2 separate regions of the Homo sapiens genome follow, and region 1 is linked to region 2. Evidence: promoter capture Hi-C in 16 types of primary human blood cells and fetal thymus (Javierre and others, 2016). All regions are on one chromosome and are shown on one strand. The core of a region is centred on a gene start or on the middle of the fragment in contact, and the rest is flanking DNA. Distances in the headings are between cores, read along the strand shown. Region 1 overlaps USP3 (ubiquitin specific peptidase 3). Region 2 holds the start of APH1B (aph-1B gamma-secretase subunit).

Region 1 (4,066 bases), core at 1,405-3,904, 300 kb before region 2:
CTTAGCCTCCCAGAGTGCTGGGATCACAGACATGAGCCACCATACCCGGCCCTAAAAATCAACTTTTAAATCACAGTTTCTAAACATAAAATTTCTGAACTACAGTATGTCTGAATGATAAGCTTATAAGGGATGTATATGTTCCTCTTTTTACTTTTTTGAGTTTTCTCCAAATTCTTCAATAAACATATGTATAAAGAAAACCATTATTAAAACATACAGGCCAGGCATAGTGGCTCACGCCTGTAATCCCAGCACTTTGGGAGGCTGAGGTGGAGGATCATTTGAGCCTAGGAATTCAAGACCAGCCTGGGCAAAAGGGTGAAACCCTGTGTCTACAAAAAATACAAAAAACACAAGCATTGCAGCATGTGCCTGTAGTCCCAGGAGACTGAGGTGGGAGGATCACCTCAGACTAAGAGGTTGAAGCTGCAGTGAGCCATGATCCCACCACTGCACTCTAGCCTGGGCAACAGAGTGAGACCCTGTCTTTTAAAAAACAAACATATGGGCCGGGCACAGTGGCTCACACCTGTAATCCCAGCACTTTGGGAGGCCGAGGCAGGTGGATCATGAGGTCAGGAGTTTGAGACCAGACCAATATGGTGAAACCCTGTCTATACCAAAAATCCAAAAAAAAAAAAAAAAAAAAAATTAGCCGGGTGTGGTGGCTGCACACCTGTAGTCCCAGCTACTCAGGAGGCTTAGGCAGAAGAATCGCTTGAACCCGGAGGCAGAGGTTGCAGTGAGCCAAGATTGCACCGCTGCACTCTAGCCTGGGCAACAGAGCAAGACTCCATCTAAACACACACACACACACACACACACACACACACACACACACACACACACACACACAAAAACCAACACAAACATACATATAAACACATGGAAATATATTTCTTTAAGGGGAAGACTATCTAGATACAACATACCCTTAACATTCACAGATTTGGCAACTGCTATTTTAACTATTTGAAAAGCCTGAATGACCCTGAAATGTACCTCAGTTTAATATTTTGCAGCAGCATGAGTGTGAATTTCACCTCAGAGCTCACATGTGGAAGTGAATTATATGGCCTGTAAAGAGTCTATTAGCAGCCAGGCACGGTGGCTCACGCCTGTCATCCCAGCATTTTGGGAGGCCGAGGCAGGCAGATCACTCGAGGTCAGGAGTCTGAGACCAGCCTGGCCAACATGGTGAACCCCATCTCTATTAAGTACAAAAATTAGCTGGGCATGGTGGCTCGTGCCTGCAATCCCAGCTACTCGGGAGGCTGAGGCAGGAGAATCGCTTGAACCTGGGAAGTGGAGGTTGCAGTGAGCCAAGATTGTGCCACTGCACTCCAGCCTGGGTGACAGAGCAAGACTCCATCTCAAAAAGAGTCTACTAGCTATCCAGTGTTCACATTTCAGTAAGGATCTGAGGAAGCTGCTTAATATTTCATTTGTACTTTACTGCATTTCCTAAAAGAAAAAATATATATTTATATAAATATTAAAATAAGTATATATGCATATATATTATATATTCATATATATATTATATATTCATATATATATGCACCACTTTCTGAAACTCTTAAGATTCTCAAAGATTTCAGGGCATGTATTTCACAACCGTCAGTCTTCCACATGATATAAACTGTTAAAACAGCATCTCTATGGAAAGCAGGAAATAAAGCTGGTTTGTTGAAGTTAGTTATTAGGTCAACTTTATATACTATATAAATTTAATTTAGCAAAGCAGTAGTTTGGAAGTATACATTAAGTTAATATGCATTTTTTACTATCCCCCAAATAGGTATTATAAAGGTGACACACATCGGTTAAAACAAATGAAAAAAATAATTCATAGTTCCATTTCCCTCCTGAATCCCACTTCCCTGAGATAATCACTGTGAACAGCACAGTGTATGCTGTTTAAGAATTTTAACACTCATATAAATGTTTTTTATCTTACACAAATGGAATTATTCCACACACATATTTCCATGGACAGTTTTTTACTACACAATATTTTGTAGCTATGTTTCTATGGCATAGTTACTGGTCAACTTTATCTTTCTTAATTGCCACATAATGCAATTTATTAAACCAGTGCCCTACTGGTGGACATTTAAATTGTTTGATTTTTTTCAATAACAAAGTGTTTAAAATCTTTTACACATACTATTGTCCACCCTTGTAAGTGAAATTAGTATGTCTAAGGAAATGCCTATTAAAAATGGTGATCACTACCTCCAAAAACAACCATGCCAATTTAGACTTATAACAACAACACGAGTGTCCTCTTCCACTGACATCCATCTTTACCCTTTTCACCAATCTTGTTTTACTTACATTTTCTTGAATATAAGTGAGGATTAACACTTTTTAGATGTTATAATGATCATTTATATCTTACTCATGTACTCTGCCCAAGTCACCTTTTTCATATATGTCCAAATATTTGTCTCAAGTTTATCATCTCTTTTCCACTTTGTTTATGGTCTTTTACCATTGCTCAATTAAATTTATGAAACGTTTCCCATTATAGGTTCTGGCTTAGAAAGCTCTCCCCTATGACAAGATCATAATAAAGATGCTTTCCTATAGTGTCCTGTGGTTTTATGTTTCACATTTAAATATTGAAACCTCAAATTAATCAGGGAAAGGATATGAGGCAGGGAGGAAATTAATGTTTTCCCAAATTAATTTTCATTTACACTAACACCATTTATTGCCTAATTTCTTATTCGTCCCACTGATTTGACATTCTTTGGCATATTGTAAATTTGCATAAATATTTTACATTAGCACCTGCTCTATATTAGTAGTTCTAGGACATTTCCTATCCCACTGCTATGTTTCTACCTTACTTTCATTTTAGAAACTTCTTTAGCTCTTCTTGAGAATTTCTGCGTACAGAGGAATTTTTGAATAAATCAGAATAAATGTAGGGAGTAATTTGGGAGAAAATGGACATTTCTACCATATTGGGTCTTCCCATCCAAGAATATGATGTGGCTCTTTTTATTCAGGCTTTATCTGTCCTTTTATAATGTTTTATTAAAGTATTGCATATTCCTTATTAAATTTATTAAGTACTTTTGAGTTTTTATTGCTACTGTGAATAGATTATTTTGCTACATACAGAAAGCCAGCTGGCTTTTTGCCTGAACTTTTTAGCTCCATGTTTATAATATATTTATCAAAGTATTACTTGTGTTTGATTTTTTAAAAATTGAGGGCTTCTAGAAAAGCAGGTGTCCTCCTGCCTAGTCTCACTCTCCATGGCAATAGTTGTTAATATTTCTCGTAATTTTCCAACTGATTATCCTGAAATGTTCTAGGTATATAATCAATCTGCCTGCAAATGTTAATAATTTGGTCATTCTATAATTTATTCTTATTTCTTTTCCTAGTTTATTGCCTTGTTCCTCCAGAAGACATCTGAGCAATATTTCAGTAGGCCTCCTGGCTTATTCCTGGCCTTACTGGAAAATCATCAGTGCTTCACCATTAACTATGATGATCACTGATAGCTTTTAATGAATAATTGTCATCAAGTTAACATTTCTTTTTTTTTTCTTCTTTTTTTTTTTTTTTCTGAGACGGAGTCTTGCTCTGTCGCCCAGGCTAGAGTGCAGTGGCGCCGTCTCGGCTCACTGCAAGCTCTGCCTCCCGGGTTCACACCATTCTCCTGCCTCAGCCTCCTGAGTAGGTGGGACTACAGATGCCTGCCACCATGCCCAGCTAATTTTTTTTTTTTTTGTATTTTTAGTAGAGACGGGGTTTCACCGTGTTAGCCAGGATGGTCTCTATCTCCTGACCTCGTGATCCACCCGCCTCGGCCTCCCAAAGTGCTGGGATTACAGGCTTCAGCCACCACGCCTGGCCAAGTTAACATTTCTATTCCTAATAAAAGTTTTTTCTTTTCTTTGTTTTTGAGACAGAGTGTCACTGTGTTGTCCAGGCTGGAGTGCAGTGGCACGATCTCGGCTCACTGCAACCTCCCTCCCCGGTTCAAGCCATTATTCTGCCTTGGCCTCCCGAGGAGCTGGGACTACAGGCACATGCCACC
Region 2 (3,906 bases), core at 41-2,540:
CAGACTCTATCTGCCAAGGACTATCTAGCTAGAAACTTGGTTATTTGCTACTCTTTCTAATCAATGCTCTGCCCATTGATGAGCCAAAACAAGAAAATACACAACCCTGATTACTGCAATTTTCATATTCTTAAAACTTACAAGAAATTATGGATTTACTGATCAGATATCTGCAAAGATGAGTATCTTTTCCAGAAAAATATCTACATCTCTATTAATAAAGTGACTGGTATAAAATTCAACTTGAAAACCTGTGTTCTGATCTGGATCAGTATCCAAGCCCTCCAGGTCTTACAGCACCCCTGGGGATTCTAATGATTATAGCAAGCTTTACAGACCCTTCCCAAATCTCTATTATTTTTAAAATGACATGCAGCGAAGCACTTTCAATACGTTTGTGGGAGGTGAAGAAACGCAGAAAAGCGGGAATCATTGGCCTAGTCTGGTGCCAAGAGAGACTCATCAGAGGAGGGGGGATGTGGTATGTGCAAGTAAGAGGCAGGTGATGACTGCGATGGGACACCAGAGTCCGGTATTTACCAAGCTCCCAGAAGGAGACGCACAGTCAGGTGCTTCGGTGTTTTTACAGGTTTCCACCCTTCGGCTGCACAACGGAACCATCCAAAAGGAGCTTAAATTTTTTTTTTTTTTTCTGAAGCCCGAATCCCATCCCCTAGACATTCTGATTCAATGGATCGGGGTGGGGGTGGGCATCGGCATGTTTTAAAGCACCTGGCCACAGGTGATTCTAATAGGCGGAAGTCGCGCACTACTATCCTAAACGCCAATGGTTTTTAACCCTTTGGGGATTACACATGCCTTTGAGAATCTGAGGGAAATTAGGGACTCCCCCTCCAGAAAATGAAGGATGCATATATGAACTTATCCATAATTTTTTTATACAACTTTAGTAGCTTCACGGATCACTAAACCCCACCCATGAGCCCCAGGCAAAAGGCCCTGACCCCCAGTGTGCGCTTCTTCCTAAGAGGGCGAGGCGCCTTTGGGGAGCCGGATCTCCGCTCTCCCCCTCTCAACCCTCCTCCCGTCTGAAACGCAACAAGGTCGAGCCGCGCGGTGGGGGCGCCGAGGGTCGCGGGTAACCCCAGCGGGGGAGGGGAGCCCCGGCGTCCGGGTTTCCCGACGCGACCGCCTCACCCGGCGATGAGGAAGATGATACGCAACGGCTCGGTGGCGATGGTGAAGACATAAAGGGCGAGCGCAGGCCCGAAGGCAATGAAGGCGCAGCCGAAGAACACGGCCGCAGTCATGGCCACCGCGGAAACCGACCCGGGGGCCCGTTGGGGACGCGAGATGCTCCCGGCGCGGGCGGGGTTCGGTGGGTGGGGCTCGGGGTGGGGGGCTAAGCGGGACGCGGGGGGCGGGGCGCGGCTCATGGGCAGGCACGGGGACGGGGGCGGGGCTCGGGGGCGGGGCACGTGGGGGCGGGGGCGGGGCTCGGAGGCGGGGTACGTGGGTCGCGGGGCGAGGCGGGGCGTGGGGGTAAACGCTAGGGCCTGGGGGACTGGGCGGGGCGTGGGCTGAGGGCGCCGGGCGCAGGGGCGGGCTCAAGGCGGTGAGCGCGGACCCCACCGTTGGGCCCTCCGCCCTACCGGGTGTCCGGAAGCGCCAGGGCCACGCCGCAGCTCCTGCTCCCGAGGCGGGCGTCCTCGGCGACGTTAGGGCCCCAGCCATCGCCGCAGCCCCACAGATACACTCCGATCGGGTTCCAGTGCCGGCCGCGAGGTGGTTAAGAGAAGGGAAGCTCCCTAGCCCACCTTCGAGCCGCATGCACCGAGAACAGGCAGAGATTCCAAGTCAACCAAAGAGACTAAACAAAAATGTAGCGCAGGAACAAGCAGGATTCCTTTTTAAATAGGTTTTTTTTTTTTTTTAAGCACATTTTACCGTTTGGATAGTTGCGGGAACTTCGTACTCCATCCTGTATAAAACCTAGGCTGGGATAGCAGTGACCCCGGGGATAACCCACAGATGGTAAAATGATGAAAGAGTGGTGGAAGAAGCTGCCCTTCTCAGGGCTGTTTCAGCCAAATGGTTTTTATTTTTTTCCCAATTCTTCAAAAGGGTTGTTTTTGCAGGCATTCTGTGACCACCCTACAAGCAATAGTAACATCTCCCTGCTCCGTCTTCTCACAGTCGTCCATTTCACTTGCTTATTTTTCTTCCCCGTTAAAACGCGAACTCCTGGGGGACAGGGACTTTGCTTTGCTCTTTGTTGTTTCCTCAGCACCTAGAAGTTCACTAATATCTGTTCAATAAGTGAAATAATTTAAAAGGTGGAAGTTATAAACATCTATATTAACAATTTCTGAAAGGTTTAAAAATTAAAACTTAAGTTCTCTGATCATTCACATCCAAGTTAGATTTTTCTTTATGTTGAATAATACTTCGTCGGTTATTTTGATCAGTGTGCCTGACACAGGTAAGTGCTATGTAAGTATTAACCACTCCTACATAATGTCCATCATGAATAAAGATTTTGGCAATCCACATTTAAAAAAACACCAGTAGACAAATGTTGGGACCTGACAGATGTTTTGCAGCTCGCCCCTGAAAATGCACCTTCAAATAATACAACTGCAGGTATTTAATTCTTACAGAAAAACATTACCTTTGCCCATTTAAAAGTCATATATATTTCCATTCACTCCCACAGAATACTTCTTCAGATTCCAGTGATTGTATTTTGAATGGTCAGATCCCAGCACAATACCTATCAAAACTCGGGTCGAGACAACAGTTCAGAGTGATAGATCTGCTTTGTAAAGATATGGAAAATGAGCTTCCAGACTGGAGGTCCTCAGTGCAACGCAGGCATGAGATGGCAGTGGCCTGATTCAGGGAATTAGCAGGACTCTGGAGGGAAGCAGACAAATTTAATAGAAGTTTAGGAATTGTACAAACAGAATTTAGTGACTAATGAGCTACATAGAGTGAGATGGGGGAAGAGTCAAGGATGAGGGCTTCTAGAGGGTTCGGGCTTAAGTGGATGCTGTGGAGACAGGAGGAGGAGAGAATATGGCAAAGTAGACACGATAATGAGTACCATTTTGTTATTTTGTTGTTACTGTTTTGGAGACATAGTCTCACTCTGTCGCCCAGGCTGGAGTGCAGTGGTGTGATCTCAGCTCACTGCAACCTCTGCCTCCCGAGTTCAAGCAATTATCCTGCCTCAGCCTCCAGAGTAGCTGGGACTATAGGCACGCGCCACCATGCCTGGGTTATTTTCGTATTTTAGTAGAGACAGTGTGAACAATGTTGGCCAGGCCAGTCTCGAACTCCTGGCCTCAAGTGACTTGCCCACCTCGGCCTCCCAAAGTGCTGGGATTACAGGCATGAGCCACCGTGCCTGGCCTTCATTTTGGATGCCTTGAGACTGAGATACTTGTAGCACTCCAAATGGAGGTGTTCAGTAGGCAACTACATATACAGGATCAGGAGAGAAATGGACTGAACATCAGAGCTGAGACCAGAATACCTGAAGCCGTGAGAGTATATAGAATAGAATTACCTAGATAGCTAGTAAAGCCAGAACAAGGCCTATGTCAGAACACCAACATTAAAGGTATGAGGAGAAGAGGAACCTCATAAGAAACTGAAAAGGAGTGGCCAAGAGGGTAACAAGAAAACTGGGGGAATGTGGTGCTGTGGAAGCCAAGGGGAAAACATTTCAGAAAGAAGGGCTGTCGAGAGGTTAAGTAGCCATGCACAGTGGCTCACGCCTGTAATCCCAGCACTTTGGGAGGCTGAGGCAGGCGGATCACTTGAGGTCAGGAGTTTGAGACCAGCCTGGCCAACATGGTGAAACCCTGCCTCTACTAAAAATACAAAAATTAGCTGGGCGTGGTGGCAGACACCTGTAATCCCAGCTACTCAGGAGGCTGA

The links. Contacts are between HindIII fragments. The CHiCAGO score rates a contact against its expected background, and 5 or more counts as called.
Region 1: a fragment that was not itself captured here is called in contact with the fragment with the promoter of APH1B in region 2 in 1 of 17 cell types (neutrophils); the score reaches 7.4 in neutrophils.

The regions. Positions count from the first base shown.
Region 1 is chr15:63,578,139-63,582,204 of GRCh38, reverse strand. All of the region lies in intron 11 of USP3 (ubiquitin specific peptidase 3), which reads right to left. Among named protein-coding and RNA genes, the nearest start is that of FBXL22, 17 kb to the left of the region's middle. The HindIII fragment of the contact is 5,059 bases long and covers 125-4,066 here.
Region 2 is chr15:63,274,989-63,278,894 of GRCh38, reverse strand. It overlaps APH1B (aph-1B gamma-secretase subunit), which reads right to left and starts at 1,290. Exons shown (of 6, transcript NM_031301.4): 1 at 1,159-1,290. The coding sequence starts at 1,271. It overlaps LOC124903504 (a long non-coding RNA gene), which reads right to left and starts at 3,789. Exons shown (of 2, transcript XR_007064674.1): 1 at 3,533-3,789; 2 at 2,043-2,877. RefSeq lists silencers at 984-1,263, 1,344-1,763. The HindIII fragment of the contact is 9,433 bases long and covers 331-3,906 here.